Linked DNA regions of Homo sapiens: all the other regions are linked to region 5. Evidence: promoter capture Hi-C in 16 types of primary human blood cells and fetal thymus (Javierre and others, 2016). All regions are on one chromosome and are shown on one strand. The core of a region is centred on a gene start or on the middle of the fragment in contact, and the rest is flanking DNA. Distances in the headings are between cores, read along the strand shown. Region 1 overlaps SLC25A26 (solute carrier family 25 member 26). Region 2 has its middle 19 kb from the start of KBTBD8. Region 3 overlaps LRIG1 (leucine rich repeats and immunoglobulin like domains 1). Region 4 overlaps LRIG1 (leucine rich repeats and immunoglobulin like domains 1). Region 5 holds the start of TMF1 (TATA element modulatory factor 1).

Region 1 (3,163 bases), core at 407-2,906, 2.8 Mb before region 5:
CCTTTACTCCAGTTACCAAGAAGTTCCTCATCTCCATCTGAGTCCACTTCAGCCTGGATTTTATTGTCCATCTCACTGTCAGCATTTTGGTCAAAGCCATTCAACAAGTCTCTAGGAAGTTCCAAACTTTCCCACATCTTCCTGTCTTCTGAGCCCTTCAAACTGTTCCAACCCCTGCTTGTTACCCATTCTGAAGTCGCTTCCACATTTTCAGGTATCTTTATAGTAGCACCCTACTGTGGGTACCAATTTCCTGTATTAGTCTGTTCTCACACTGCTGATAAAGACATACCCAAGACTGGGTAATTTATAAAGGGAAGAGGTTTAATGGACTAACAGTTCCACATGGCTGGCAGAGGGGCCTCACAATCATGGTAGAAGGCAAAGGAGGAGCAAAGTCACGTCTTACATGGCTGCAGATGAGAGCGTATGCAGGAGAACTCCCCTTTATGAGATCATCAGATCTTGTGAGACTTATTCACTATCACCAGAACAGAATGGGAAAGACCTGCCACCATGATTCAATTACCTCCCACCAGGCCCCTCCCACAACATGTGGGAATTATGGGAGCTACAATTCAAGATGAGATTTGGTTGGGGACCCAGAGCCAAACCATTTCATGTGCGTTCTTTTCTTTTTTTTTTGAGACAAGGTCTTCCTCTGTTGCCCAGGCTGGAGTGCAGTGGTGCTGTCTCTGCTCAAGTGATCCTCCCACCTCAGCCTCCTGAGTAGCTGGGACTAGAGGCATGCACCAACCACGCCTGGCTAATTTTTTAATTAAAAATTTTCTTGTTTTGTAGAGACAGGGTCTTGCTGTGTTGCCAGGGCTGGTTTTGAAGTACTGGCCTCAAGCAATCCTCCTGACTCAGCTTCAAAGTGCTGAGATTACAGGCATGAGCCACTGAGCCCAGCCCATGTTGTTCTTACAGTTTTTAGAAAATTTTTTTTGTAGAAAGAGGTGTCACAGGTATGAGCCACCACACCTGGCCCACCCTAAGAATTTTTGTCAAAACATTAAAAACGCTTTGGTTGTAATATATAGGGGAAAAATTGCAAAGCTGATGTTTATTTAGTACACTGTAATTAAAAACATTAGAAACATTAATAACTTAATTTTTTGGACAAAACCTTATCAACAGTAGTTTGAACATTTGCTTGTGTTCTCATTATGTATTATAGAAGAAGCATCTTTTTATGCCTTGGCAAGTTGTCATACTGCTTTCTCAGTTTGGATCAACTTCTAACATTTTATTTTTTGTGCTTTCAATGTTGTGAGTTCGTTTAATGCGAAGACTTGCTGACATAACTTAGTCTGGGACATTTTCATCCTTTTCATCACAACTACTTTCCTTATTTATGTTAAATTTGCTCTCACTTATTTTTTCTAGTTACTTATCTAGATTAATGACAGCAGTGTGAATATTTCCATGGCCAGCTGTTTGTTCTCTAATACCATTTATGTCTGATTTTTGTTTAACTTTGTGTTACCACTTTTCATTTTTTTTGCATTTTCATCTTTGTTCATCAGTTTTCTGTCTATTTTTATAAAATGTCGTGTGCATTTATTACTGGGAGATGAGGTAACAACTATTTGCTGTCTGTGCGTAAACTGAGTAATAGGCAGTGATTTCTGTTAATTGTATTGTGATTTGTGGACTGAACAAGTGGTGAAGTTTACACTTTATCCAGTTACTCATAGTTAATATGCTGTGGTAACTGAAATTTGACCTGGGTCATTGGGAGATTCATGTTATTTAAGTAAATCATGGTAACTGAAATTCATGTATGTAGGTACCATGCAAAGTGAGGACCGCTTGTAGTTTTTGTTTTCCTGTTTTTAGTGAGGTGATTTTTGGCTGGTGCTGTCATCTGGGGAGCTTTTTCGTGATACTTGGGTGTCTTCTCACTGGACCTGCCCTTCTGCTGAGAACCACCTTACAGGCAGTAGGATACTTGAGGGGAACAATGTGGGTTATGATGGCAGGGGTTCTTGGGTGGAGTGAAGAAAGGTAATACGAATGAAGTATTGGGTATACTATTAAAAGAGGTTTTCTGTTTTGTTGTTTTTCTTGTTTTGCCTCTTATCTTTTCTGGATAGTGACCTCCTAGTTTTCAATTTGGAGTAAAGGGCATCTTTAAAGATTATCTCCAAATTTATAAAAAATTGAGAATTATGCTTCTCTTTCTCAGGACTTGTGTGACTTGTTTATTTTTGGCATTTACGTCAGAGTGAGCAGGTCTTCCCTTTTTGCTTGCTTTTGTGTTGAGCAAGAAATTATCTAAACACAAGTATATTCCAAATTTTGCTCAGCCCGTGGAGCATGCAAAGCACTGCTTGGAGAGCACCAATCATGCAAGGACCACAACTGATAACCACCACTGTGATGGAGGCATTTTTTTGTGCATCTCTACTACCCACAGATGGGACTACCTTTCTTTTTTCATTTTTCTTTCTGTTTAAGAAAGGCATACTTGGAAAGTTTTAGTATTTGATAACTTAGCTGTAAGTGACTTGTTAATGTGGTTTTGTTACCACTTCCAAACCCTACTACTACATGTTGAAAGTTGCTCTAAATATTAAATCTTTTGTAATACAGACAAAATTTGGGTAACATTAATTAAATTCCAAATAAAGGAAAGATAAAAGTTACACCCACAGTTATCTCACCTCCCCAAATCAGGTGTCTTTTACATGCTTAACCAGATACATTTGTTGGCCTTTGCTGTGTTATTTGGGGTTGAATGCCTGAAAAATATGGTCCCCCACCTTCAGGGATTTAGAGTCTAGTAGGAGGCAGATGCTAAACGAAACTTAATTATATAATTCCAAGTGGTGGTAACACTTAACTGTTTACTGAGCACTTTAAAAGTGCTTATGCAACTTTTTCATAGCTGAGGTCATATAGGTATAATTTTATATTCTACTTTAAAAAATTAACATGTAAGTTTGAATTCAAGAATCATAAAGCAATTTGAACACTTATATTTCTCTTTAAGTTTTTGAAGTTGATGCTGAATGTTCCTGTCATGCATCACATGATTTGGTTTCTGTTGAGTCAGTTCACTGGGGATTCTTGTCCAGAGAGCAGAATTTGAGAAGAGCTTTTAATTCATTATTGCTAGTGAAAAACTTGAATTTACAGATTTTAATATATGAATTTG
Region 2 (3,428 bases), core at 180-2,679, 2.0 Mb before region 5:
ATAACAAATTGCCATAGGCTGCATGGCTTAAATAACAAACATCTATTTCTCCCAGTCCCGGAGTCTGGAAGTTTAAGATCAAGGTGCTGGCAGATCCTGTGTCTGGTGAGGGCCCTCTTCTCATCGCATCCTCTCATGGTGAAGAGCAGAGAAAGAGAAAGATAAAGCAAGCTCTCTAGTGTCTTTTTATAAAGGTACTAATCCCAGATCCCTCATGACCTAACCACCCGCAACGGCCCTACCTCCTAATACCATCACATTGGGGGTTAGGATTCCAGCACATGAATTTGGCGGAATTGGCAGAAACATTCAGTTCACAGCAGGATTTAACAGAGTTGCGGTCACATAGTTCAGTTCTTGAAACACATGCTTGCAAAATCCTTTAAGGATAAGAAGATAAGGTCAAAACATCTTATCCCAACACTTAGATTACGATGTCAAGTAGCCAAAGTTAAGTCTTGAGGAGCAAATGCCAACAGGAACCCACACAACGCAGGGGAGTATTTCCTTGTAATCAGTGAGAACCTGAGATAGTAAGAAATCCATGGTGCTCTCTGACAACTGTTCTTAAAGCTCAAGAGCTTGGTCAAGGTTAGCGATGGAACTTAGGAGTCTGGCATATCCACAGAGCTGGTTTTAGTTGAATTTGAGTTAATGGATGAGTTAGTGCAAAGATAAATTGTAAAATGAGAAGCGAAAGTAGCTAAGAATAAAATTTAAGAAATTCAGCTGAAGGAACAGAAGAAAGGCAACTGAAAAGTTATCAGAGAAGAAGGGAGAATCACAAAGGAGTAGTAATGCATGAGAAAACTTCAGGAATGAGATCCAAAGAGAAGAAATGAAATGCAGAGAGTAAGAGGCTCCTGGTCTAGCCATGTGAAGATCTGAAATGAGAAAGTGGTTTTAGCCAAGTGCAAGAGATGAAAACCAATTGCTGTGAATTAAGGTGCAGGTGGAGGATGTGAGTGGGTGTCAGTGGGTGAGAGTGCAGGTGCTTCCCCAGGAAGCCTGCAGGTGAGGAGATTCTGAGACGTGGAGGTGCTGGAGAAATAATATTTTTTTAAAAATCAGAACATTTAGGCCTTTTCAATAAAAATGGGAAATGAGAAATATCCTTGCAAAAAGTCAAAATCTTTTCCATTTCTAGACTATTCCCGGTTGAGAGTTCTGCAGTATACCCGTTAACCCCAAAAGTTAAAGAGATTAGGGATATGCAAAAACATGCAAAGAGGCAGGACTGATGAAAGACAAACCCCTAGAAATAGGAGCAGAGTGAAAAAAGAGAAAATCCTGACCCAGAGAGAGGTAGACACACTTTCTATAGCCTCTTACATTTCTGAAAAAGAATGAAAATAGTAAGAGTTTTTGCAACTTCTTGCTACTTTGCCCCAGAGCCAAATATGGTTCCCACCCCTGACCCAAAACATCTGGTTTGTGATAAGGGCTCAATTATCCTGTGCTTTCTAAAGTATGTGGTGGGTGTGGTGATGGCAGGAGTCAACAGGCAGAAGAATGGATGAGCTAATCAGAGCATGCATACGTGAAAGTAAAGAGGACAAGGGTCCTCTCACTTGGTGTTTGTGTAGCTGGAGATGACAGGGAGATGACACCTATCACTCAGGGGCCTGCCCCAGTGAGTGGGGAGTTTCATGGATCTCACCTCAAGTTGTACAAGTATATGTCCTGGGGCAATTTTGATTCACAATTTATAAAATCATGGTAGGATTTTATAATTTTATTTTATAACTTTACCCTATAGCTGCAGGCAGAAAAAAGAGGAGAGTAATTTTGATATGTGTATATAGGCTTTTTTTTCACTTTATATGAATTGTTTATTCATATCTTTTCCTCATTTTTCCTTTTTAAAATTTCATTTAAGTTCCGGGATACACGAGGTTTTTATATTCATATATAAATGTGATACACAGCAAAATACTTGCATCAGTATCTGTGTATCCTTCTTGAAGGTTTCTAAGAAATTGGTTATAATTTTCTTTTTAATCTACATTTTACTATTCCAAAAATTAAAATGCTATCCACACTTTACTGGGCACTGACCTGTGTGAGGTTGATTTCCATGGTAGCATGAAAAAATATATCTATCCTGTTTTGCATGACAAAACATATCTATCATACTTACATATATGATAACAACGACCCATGTGAAAAATAATATCTATGAGACACTGACTAATATCTTATTCTTGCATATCACTTTCTAGTTTTTGAAATGCTTTGGTATCTGTTATCTTTTTGGTTCCTACTACCGGTGCTGCAGCCATCTGTCATTGTCCCCCTTTTACTTTTGAAGAAACAAAGAAACAGAAAAGGAGTTGTTAAACTTAGGGATCAAACTTAGCTGTAAATGAAAGCAGACCTGTTAATTTCCTCCCACTCCCTAGTGAGCAGGGACCCAGGAAGATGGCCCGAATGGTTATATTCAAAGGCAGAACGTGGAGGTGCTGGGACTGCAGACCTTCTTGCTGGTCAAGGAGCCAGTTTGGGATGTAAAGTGAGTGAGTTCACTTTTGGAAGAGCTGAGTTTCAAGTGACAGAGGATCACTATGTATAGATTACTGTGCCGAGAAACAGCCAGGATGGGTGTGGAGACAGGAAACTGAATGAAGGTGATAGGTCAGGCGAAGATGTGGAGTTGGCAGTCACCCAAATACCGGTCAGCGCTCAAGGCACTTACAGAGGGAACGAGAAGAGCCCGGGTGAGAGCCAAGCGTCGGAGGGCCCACGTGAGGACTTAAGGAAGGGGAAGAGAGCATTTCAAAGAGCCAAGGACAGAGAGGTCCTGGGAGAAGCAGGAGCATAGCCTTGAGAAAGGAAAGAGGCTGCATGTGAAGGGAAAACTTGGTGTTCAGAATGAAGACGGCTCCTGAAAACTCAGTTCAACCTTTTGTTCATCAAATGTTCACTGTTAAGTGCAGGTTTTAAATTTGGACTCTGAAAAATGGTTTCTTCATATAGAATAGTGATATGAATGATTTCATTCACTGGAACATCTCACCGCCTAACCAGTGACTCAGAGGAACTTTCCTCTGTTAATGAGTGTGGCCTTCCTCTCCGCTCACCCTTCTGCACCTTGACACGGGACACTGCTCCTCTTCTGTGTCTGAGTCTGCTTGGATTTGAAGCTCCCCAAGGGCAAGGACCCTTTATCTCGAGTGTGTACTGAGCGCGGATCATGGTGCTTGACAGACAGGGGTCCCTCAACCAATTCAAGGAACAATGGCATGAATATCCCGCTTCTGCTTTCCGGCGGTTTAGTTTTCCTCTCTGGGACTCTCTGACTCCATATTTCCCGTTGTTTGGAAAGATACATTTGCAGGCTTAGCCGTGATTGGCAAACATTTTTATATGGGGCTTGGCATTTTAACATCTGGAAAAGTTGTGAAATCAATTAGCTGCAGATAAAGATG
Region 3 (3,255 bases), core at 452-2,951, 2.6 Mb before region 5:
AACGAGACCAAGTGAGTAACAGGGAGAGTGTGTGACACTGACACACGAGGCTCGAAGAAGGGTGGGAACATCATTTGGCCTGTTTTGAGCTCAGAAAGCACAATGGAAAAAGGTCATCTTTGGTTCTTAAAGGGAGAATTTTTTTTGTAAAGTCTAGTTTTTTGGACACTCTATTCCTAAAGTAGTCCCTAATTGTTGTTAAACTTCTGTCAAGAAGTTCCAGACCACTAACTGTTCCTCCAACTTCATTGCATTTTAGTTGTATCCCCAAACAAAACTCCAAATTCCAAGAATTTGTTCCGGAAAACAATAATAAAAATAAAAATAAATTTTAAATCCGGAAGTTTCGTTTTATGAAAATTTACACGATAAAGAATGAGTGGAAGGAAAAGAAAAGCCCAAGAATTTCCACTGAAGGCACTAACAAATTCCACGTCGAAGAAAAGTGGACATCCAGAACAAAGAAAATAAAAGCTTCTAGATTCTCCATGAAAAGTATTTTAAGGAGTCCAATTACTGTCATAATTTTCAAGATTTTCAAAAACAGTGTAACTAAGAGGTAACCAATGCAAACCTAGGTAGATGGGTAAATTTAATATGAATTTGGCCAAAAACAGAGTCAGACTTCAAAATTAGAAAAAGCCACAGCCGGGCGTGGTGGCTCACATCTGTAATCCTAGCACTTTGGGACGCTGAGGTGGATGGATCACTTGAGGTCAGTCATGAGTTCAAAACCAGCCTGGCCAACATGGTAAAACCCTGTCTCTACTAAAAAAAAACAAAAAAAAAAAAATTAGCCTGGCTTGGTGGCAGGCGCCTGTAATCCCAGCTCTTTGGGAGGCTGAGGCAAGAGAATCACTTGAGCCAGGAAGGCAGAGGTTGCAGTCAGCTGAGATCACACCACTGCACGCCAACCTGGGCGACAGAGTGAGACTCTGCCTCAAAAAAGAAAAAGGAAGCCACTAGGCTGTACATGTTAATTGGCTGAGTTTCTATCTTGAAAGGGATACACGAAAGATCTCCCTGGTAAAAGGGATGGCAAGCTGGCCCAGAAAGAACAGGCAGTGCAGTGAGTAGCTGCCCTTCCTGTGGCCATGACTATAGAATGTGACAGGTGGCCCATCCAGTCCTTAAAGGCAGTTTCTCAGCATCATTTACAACTTCACTTATGGCAAGTATTCACTGAAGGACTGCCTGAGAAAGATGCTGCCTGCAGTGGCCCTGAGAAAGGACCCTTTGGGAAAACATGCCTGTAATTTATTTTCCTGGTTTTTTTTCTTTAAATTTTTACCTAAGTTCTTAAAATTCTAAATCAAAGATCGAAAGTGGATCTGTACCAGCCTCCACAGTTTTCTTTGGGCCAGAGGGGAAAAGGAGGTAAAAATGAAGGAAAGCACCACTTTCTTTGTGGAGTATTCACTCCTCCTCAATAATATCTCAAGGCTCACAAAAGGGTCCCTCATTGAGACTCTGCATGCACATACCCTTTTTTCTCTTTGCTGCTTATGGTATCCATCTGAGAATTTCACTCAGAAGTAGCAAACATTGGCCTAGCATGGTAGCTCACATCTGTAACCCCAGCACTTTGGGAGGCCAAGGCAGGAGGATCACTTGAGCCCAGGAGATCAAGACCAGTCTGGGCAACACAGCAAGATCCCATCTTCACAAAAAATAAAAACTAGCCAGGTGTGGTGGCACATGCCTGTAGTCCTAGCTACTCAGTAGACTGAGGTAGGAGGATCACTTGAGCCTGGGAGGTCACGGCTATAGTGAGCCATGATTGCGCCACTGCACTCCAACCTGGGTGACAGAGTGGGACCCTTTGTGTGTATGTGTGTGTGTGTGTGTGTGTGTGTGTCTAACACACACACAGAGAGAGAGAGAATGTTTAAGTATCCTAGATACAGATCAATTTAATTCTTACCATCCAATGAAATATAAGTTTACTCCCTTTTTGCTTCAATTAGAATAGAATCATGAACCTAAAAATGAGGGGTCTTAGAAATTATACATCCCTTTACAGACAGGAAATGAAGTGACTAGCCCAAGGTTATGCTGCCAATCAGTGGCAGAGCTGGGACGAAACCCCAACGTCTCCTGAGGCCCAGCCATGAGCTAGTTTCCCATTCTACCACATCCTCACTTTCATGACTTTAAGAAAATTAATTTTTTCCTCTCAGGTGAATCATTTTTATGCCTCTTTGGGCAAGCACCCCTTTAAGAAACTCCATGAAAACGTGGTCTCCTTTCTGTCCAGAAAGACATTCTGAGCACCACGACTTCACATAAAGTTTCTCCCAAGTAAATAATAAGGTCAGCCAATCTTTATTTTAGGATAGTAATGAAATGAATATAATTTACTCATTTCTAAGTATTGTTTCAAATGACCTTGTGAAAGAACCCAAAAATCTCCATAGAAGAGTCTCTGATTTTTCCATTGGGTAAAGCATAGCCCTGGATAAGGCCAAACCACCCAAAGCAAAGAGTCCTACACAGACTCCAAATCTGAGAAAACAATCAGAGGAATTTGGGATGAGGCAGATCTTAATAACTACAGGGCATGTCAGCTTGTTTTCTGGATCTCCCCTCCTCCAAGATGGAAGGAAACCCTGCTCCCTTCGAGCTGCAGCCTCTGCATCCATCACTTCATTGCATCAACAATTCACTTCCTGGAAGCAACGAGCTCTTCTGACTGTTTATAAGTTTTGCAAGCACTGGGAGCTTGTGTGCCAGAAACTCACACCAGCCCAGGTGGAGGGAGGAAACCACAGACACAGAGAAAAATTCTTCTTAATTAAAAATAAAACGAAAACTAAGACGGAGGCATGATGCTGGGTCAAGGTACCACCACACTGCTAAAACCAGATGAAAGAATGGTGTTCTCCTAATTTGCAGAACAGCACTTAATTTCATAGAATCTCTCAATACTAAGCTTTTCTGCCCCATAATTTAAAAAAAAAAAATGCATTGGAGCGTGCTTCCACTTTTCTAAACAGAGAACCCACTGTAAATGGTGTATAATCGGTTATCATATAAATTTAATTAAGCTTCACAGATCCACCAGTTTAACCTGACCATGTTGGACAGCTTTTAAGGCCACCGAACACTCCATAATCTACCTGGAATTTGATTTTCACAGATAGAAGATGGAAGTCATTCCAAAAACTAGGATAAAGTGAATGGAATTTGGAGGACTAGTAATTCCCACTCAGATTCCTAAATGAAGCTGCAGCTAGCAAAAAATCCATTCTAAAG
Region 4 (3,021 bases), core at 108-2,607, 2.6 Mb before region 5:
AAAAGAACATATTCTGCAAATAATCAAATGAAAAAAATCACTCAGATCTCAACATGATACAAATAGCTCATTTTGTAAGCTTTTGGGCAGTTGTATCTCACAAAGTCAGTAATGAGTCACCAGTTATTTCCATTTCTGAAAATTTTACATAGACCATTATCTATGCAAATAAGGGAAACCTACAGTGACTCAAAATAGGAGATACTATATACATACAGCTATATATGGACCCAGACTCATTGCCTATTTTTACTCCTTAAAAATCAGCTATAATAATCAGTGTGGGCCTCTGAAGTCTAACGCCCGTGACGTTAACTGAGAGAAGAAACTCATGCCTACCTCTGTGATCCCATAAGGTCTTACATGTGCTTCTCGGCCTTACTAGTTCACACATGTCATCCTGGTCTGTAGCTAATTTGAGTACAAGTCTACATCTTTTCCCTCTAGCACCCAACAAATGTCAAATTTGACAAATATTTATTGTCTACAAGGTATACTGCACTGTGATAAACTGATAACAAATTAGGATAAGATCTAGTCTGTGACTTGAAGTGGTTTACAACCCACTGGTCAAGTTAAGACTCCTGGCCGGGTGTGGTGGTTCACGCCTATAAATCTCAGCACTTTCGGAGGCTAAAGTCGGGGAATCACTTTAGGCCTGGAATTTGAGACCAGCCTGGGCAACATAGTGAGACCCTGTCCCTACCAAAAAAAAAAAAAAAAAAAGAATACTGACCAAATAACACAGCCAAAGGCTCTGACACTTGCAAGCATTCTGTAATGGTAGATCAGTAGCTACAAATTGGTAGTTTGTGGGTACAAAGCTGGGCTGCAGGGAAACTTGCTTGTTTCTGACTGAACAGTGTTGGTAGAAACCTAAAGTTTTCACCAAAAACTAAAGTTTCAGCTTTTCTTGAAAATAATCGGAGGGCCAGCATTCCTAACAGAAACAATCAACTACATGCATTTACCAAGCATTCCAATGACCACAGACCTCACCACTCCTTATTGTCTCACCCATGCCCTCTTTATTCACCGGCAGTATCTTCCCAGCCCGAGATCTGAGTTTGTCATCCCTAGCATGGATAACATGAATGAAGGCCAGATGGCGTCCAGAGCAGGAAAGATCAGCTGTAATGAGAAACGTTTATTGAAAATGCAAGATTTCAGCTAAGCCTAGAAGAAGAGCATGTTTTTTTGAAGAGGAGTCCTGGGAAACGAGGCCAGAAAAGTAAAATAAGGAATGGAGGGCATGGAGTAAAATAAGCAAACAAAAAGGCCAAGAAGTCAGGACCTCCTAGAAAGGAAAGGGCAAGACACAAATGGTTTTACAGCAAAGTTGAGAAGAATAGCCCCATGCTGCCAGACCCACAACCCACCAGGCGGTTAAGTCAAGGGTTATATAAACCTTAGCAAACCCCAGTGCCAGGTCCCTCACGAACATTAATCTATGGGGCCATTAAAGTTGATTTCCATAAGAACAGAGTATCGCCTTGTTCATTTACTTAAAAGTTCTGAACTAGATAATCAAGAGGCCCAATTTGTTTTCTCACCATCACTGAAGGCAGTTAGCATTTGCTTTCTATACTACCCCTTAAAATGGGAGATTCTAGGATCTTTCCTACCAAAAATCTTAGTTTGGCCAAAAAGAAACAAAATAATTAGCTATAATGGGTTTTGTTTTGTTTTACTTTAAGCAGTCTCATCTTTAGTGCAGTTTAGTACTGAGGAAAGCCCACAAATTTCCCATAATAGTCTCTTGTTAATATGGTATGTGCATCATTAACCCCTAAAGATTAATTAATTTAATTAAGAAGAGGCGCTCCAACACACCAGCTCTGCAGTTGGTGGGGACTTTACAAGCAAAAGGAATTTGGGCAGGGAATAGCTGCTGCCAGAGGCTGACCCTCCCACAGACCTGCCACAAAGGGAATATCACCATGGCCACCCCAGCAGGCAAGAGGTGCCTACAGCCACCATTTGGCTTTGCTATTAGAGAAGTGCTTTGCAGAGGCTTGGAAATGGGGAGCGGGAAGAGATGGGTCAGAAGTCTGGTCATTCAGGATCGCCTATTCTCTACTTTATCATCTCCAAAAAGAAACACTAATTCACTAACTTTCACATAGTCCTTAAGCTCTACAGGACTTGGCAAACTCATCACCTGCACAATAGCCCCCCTATCCTCACCCCATCCAGTAACAGAGCTGAATCTTTACCTCCTGGGAGCCCAGTCATTCTGCAGAACAGAGGGGGGTTGGAACCTTGGAGCCAGGTGCTCCCTGCTCCCACTGAACTCTTCCCCGAGGTGCCCTGACAGCCTAGGGCCCCAGCCGCTGCAGGGAGAGCAAAGGCTCATCCATCCCAACCAGCAGGGACGGAGGGCATGGCGGGGATGAAGGGCGGCCAGAGGTAAAACCCAGAGGTTCTCTCAGTTAAAGGATGGCAGAGGGTTCTCATAAATGAAAACCACGCTCTACTGCGGCAGAAAACGGAGACTTTTGCTTCTGGAGTACTGAAAACAAGTCAGGCAAAAGGGACAGGAAATATGGGATGGGTAAAACTGAGAAAAAGGACACATTAACCTGGTGGATACATTTGGAATCCCAGGTTCACCAAGTGCTTTGTAAAGTCCACCAAAGCTTCTCTGGTCACGGATTACTGTTTTCCTTTCCTAAAACTTCCACCTTTACCCCTCCACATCCGCCCCTGGCCCCTGCTAAATGTCCACTTTCAGGAGACTGATTAGCTTCCTATGAAACCACCAATGCAAAATCCAGGGTGTTTCTGAAAATGTGATGCAGCTTTAAAATTCACTAACTTCGGGCCAGGCGTGGTGGCTCATGCCTGTAATCCCAGCACTTTGGGAGGCCAAGGCAGGCAGACCATGAGGTCAGGAGATCAAGACCATCCTGGCTAACACGATGAAATCCCATCTCTACTAAAAATACAAAAAATTAGCCTGGCGTGGTGGTGGGCGCCTGTAGTCCCAGCTGCTGGGGAGGCTGAGGCAGGAGAATGGCG
Region 5 (3,079 bases), core at 89-2,588:
AGAAATAAAATGTGATACCATCCAGAAATCTTGGGTCACACATTTTCCGGCTAATACCTCCGGCACATTCTAATCCTCCTCCGCCGTGTGACCTAGAGCAAGTTACTTGGCCATTCTGGGCCTCATTTTCCTCTTATGTAAAACACGGATATAAACCAAGCTCTCTCTGGGAGTTGTTCTGAAGATGAGAAGGCCATAAAAAAGCACATTACAGGCTCGTGCCTGTAATCCCAGCACTTTAGGAGGCCGAGGTGGGTGGATCGCCTTAAGTCAGGAGTTCCACCAGCCTGGCCAACATAGTGAAACCCCGTCCCTACTAAAAATACAAAAAGTTGCCGGGCGTGGTGGTGGGCGCCTGTAATCCCAGCTACTAGGGAGGCTGGGGAAGGAGAATCGCTAGAACCTGGGAGGCGGAGGTTGCAGTGAGCCGAGATCGCGCCACTGCACTCCAGCCTGGGCGACGGAGTGAGACTCCGTCTCAACAACAACATAAAACCACATTACGCGCTACCAAGCGCGAAATGTTCACTGACTGTTAGCGATTGTTCTTCCCTTCCCTGATGATTTACGTACTTCAGACCTTGGATCCCAACAGTGCCCGAGACGCGAAGCAATTCGAGGTTCAGGTTCGGGAAGGTTGTGCTTGGAAGCTGCGTCGAGGGAGAGCTTGAGGGCAAGACCAACCAACCAAGTCCCCTGTCATCCAAGTCCACAAGCCTCGCACCCAGGACCAAAGAAAGACAAGGGGGAACCTGGATCTGGGTTTTCCCTCAGGAAAACAGCAAAGACCGACTTGGAGGCTGAAGCAGCATTAGGGAACGGGCCGGGGAGAAATTACTTCCTGAAAACTCTCTCAGCAAGGAAGGACCCCTCTCTACACCACTTAACCTGCCTGCATCAAGAGAACAGCAGCCTCCGGGAGCCAGGAACCCCGCTCCTCTCTCTCTTACCCGGCTCTCCATACGGAATGGTCTCGGCCCAGATGCTCGGCTCCTCTTCCTGGATGTCCAGAACCCTGTCAATAGACTTCTGGGCCTGGGACAGGGCCTGCTTAGCGAAGCTGGAGAGCTGGGAGGCGTTGAACCAACTCATCGCCCCTCCTCAGCCGGCAGTGGCGGCGGCAGCACCAAGCGGGAAGGCCTCAGGCCTGGGGAAGGGTGCAGAGGAACGGCTTCGCTCCCCTTTTCCACTCGGCTGGTTCTGTCAGCGTGTGGCCATTACCCCGACAGCCTCCCGCGAGCCCGGGATGTTACCCTCGGCCGTTCCCGCACAGCTGAGACGAAGGGGGCCCATGTGCGCATGCGCTTGCTTCTTCCACGTACACAGCAACCAAATCTACGAGCCCAGAGTTCGGTCGACAGACGGAAGAACAGAAGAACGTTGACGTCACATCCGGGAGCGCAGGGTTGCCGTTAGTTACCGAGGAACGCGGAAGGGTTTCTATTGATGTCGATTTCGTGCTTACAGCAGTTCTTAGCGAAGGGGAAGCTATGGCTACCGATAGAGGTCGATTTCCCCGGAAGGAATATTCAAGTTTTCGTGTGTGTGCTTTCCAGGAAAATAGTTCACGTGCTAAAAGCTTGCACCTTGCCAGCAATAATTGCAAAGGGAAATTGGGCCTCACACTTCTCTTAGCCCTTTGTCTCAAATATTTAATAAGCTCTGTATTAACTTGGTATTGTAAGGAGAAACACTTGTTTGGGCTTGCCTAAAAGACAGGATCACGTATGAACACTGTGTCCAACTCGTGGAACACATGGTGCATAAAGCACAACCTCTCTCTCAAAATAGTAGTAAACTCATTGCTGCAGTCAAAATACCCCTAATACTGTGGTCTGTCGGTGTCCCCTGCACAAATTCCTATGTTGAAACCTAATCTCCAATGGGACAGTATTAAGGGGAGCCTTTAGGAGATGATTAGATGATGATGGAGCCCTCATAAATGGGGTTAGTGCCCTTATAAGAGAGGCCCAAGGGAGCTCACGGCAAGAAGGCACCAACTCTAAGCCAGAATAGCAGCCCTCACCAGACACCAAATCTGCCGGCTCCTTATCTTGGACTTCTCAGCCTCTAGAACTGTTAAGAAACAAATTGCTACTGCTTATAAGCCACCCAGTTTATGGCAATTTGTTACAGCAGTCCAAATGGACTAAGACACCTAGGAAGCACTAAAGCTGTTATCCTAACAATGTGCACTGTGCATATTACTTAAAACATAACCTTTTCTGTGTGCATTCTCTTCGAACATTTGGACATGGGAAAATACCTTAAATTGGTGGCCTTCCTAATCCAGTCTGCAGCTATATTTGGTTTGGGCCCAAGTTAAAGACAAAATCCTAACTAAAAGCCAGATTTCATTCAAAAATCTAGATTTCCAGCTGCTTTTGAAAAATATGAATACCAAGCATGGGAATAGTCAGCCAGAGTGGTCACCAAATAATTTTCACTCACTCCAGTTTGCCACAGACCCCTATCACTCATCCTATTACACCCTCCCTGCTGTGATTATTTACCTTATATGCCTGCCTCCCATATTTGAATATTTTACCCCACTGCAAGGAACTCTGCAAAAAAGAATTATTTTTCTTTTAAAAAATCAGATTGAACCCCTTAAGAAGTTATAATCATCTTCCAATAATTTTATCTAACTACAGTAAAAACTTGCATGTTAAAACTAACAATTTAGTCATGTACACAAGTAGTACCAAGTAACTCAAGTACTTTCAAACAGCTAAGTAGTCTGCAGAGGAGATTTGGGGCAGATTCGGGTTGAAATTAGCTGTACAGTTACAGTTCCAAGACTTCTAATTGTACAGCTTTGGTGAAATGACCTACCTAAACCATCTAAAACTATTTATTCAGCTCTCAGATAGAGTCACCTTCTTACAATGCTACTTTGAGAATTATTATAGCACCTATATGGTGCTAAATTTTAGTTCCTTCACTTTCAAAATTGTAAGCTACACCTGTAACTTTTCAGGTAGAGCTTATAAATTTATTCCGTATGGTTTTATAATAAAACTTATTTGTCAATATGTAGCTAGAAAGATTACTGAAAACTTAACTCAGTGACACATAA

Evidence for each region. Contacts are between HindIII fragments. The CHiCAGO score rates a contact against its expected background, and 5 or more counts as called.
Region 1: a contact is called between a fragment that was not itself captured here and the fragment with the promoter of TMF1 in region 5, in 2 of 17 cell types (naive CD4 T cells and activated CD4 T cells). The highest score is 6.3, in naive CD4 T cells.
Region 2: a contact is called between a fragment that was not itself captured here and the fragment with the promoter of TMF1 in region 5, in 1 of 17 cell types (total B cells). The highest score is 8.3, in total B cells.
Region 3: a fragment that was not itself captured here is called in contact with the fragment with the promoter of TMF1 in region 5 in 2 of 17 cell types (activated CD4 T cells and non-activated CD4 T cells); the score reaches 14.1 in activated CD4 T cells.
Region 4: a fragment that was not itself captured here is called in contact with the fragment with the promoter of TMF1 in region 5 in 1 of 17 cell types (activated CD4 T cells); the score reaches 5.5 in activated CD4 T cells.

The regions. Positions count from the first base shown.
Region 1 is chr3:66,225,847-66,229,009 of GRCh38, forward strand. The region is part of intron 1 of SLC25A26 (solute carrier family 25 member 26); the gene reads left to right. Among named protein-coding and RNA genes, the nearest start is that of SLC25A26, 6.4 kb to the left of the region's middle. The HindIII fragment of the contact is 7,505 bases long and covers 1-3,163 here.
Region 2 is chr3:67,015,918-67,019,345 of GRCh38, forward strand. No RefSeq gene overlaps it. Among named protein-coding and RNA genes, the nearest start is that of KBTBD8, 19 kb to the left of the region's middle. RefSeq lists an enhancer at 2,477-2,526. The HindIII fragment of the contact is 5,097 bases long and covers 1-3,428 here.
Region 3 is chr3:66,487,695-66,490,949 of GRCh38, forward strand. All of the region lies in intron 1 of LRIG1 (leucine rich repeats and immunoglobulin like domains 1), which reads right to left. Among named protein-coding and RNA genes, the nearest start is that of LRIG1, 12 kb to the right of the region's middle. The HindIII fragment of the contact is 2,458 bases long and covers 473-2,930 here.
Region 4 is chr3:66,469,201-66,472,221 of GRCh38, forward strand. All of the region lies in intron 1 of LRIG1 (leucine rich repeats and immunoglobulin like domains 1), which reads right to left. Among named protein-coding and RNA genes, the nearest start is that of LRIG1, 30 kb to the right of the region's middle. The HindIII fragment of the contact is 2,560 bases long and covers 78-2,637 here.
Region 5 is chr3:69,050,995-69,054,073 of GRCh38, forward strand. TMF1 (TATA element modulatory factor 1) reads right to left here and starts at 1,339. Exons shown (of 17, transcript NM_007114.3): 1 at 951-1,339. The coding sequence starts at 1,092. RefSeq lists an enhancer at 931-1,400. The HindIII fragment of the contact is 2,649 bases long and covers 1-1,577 here.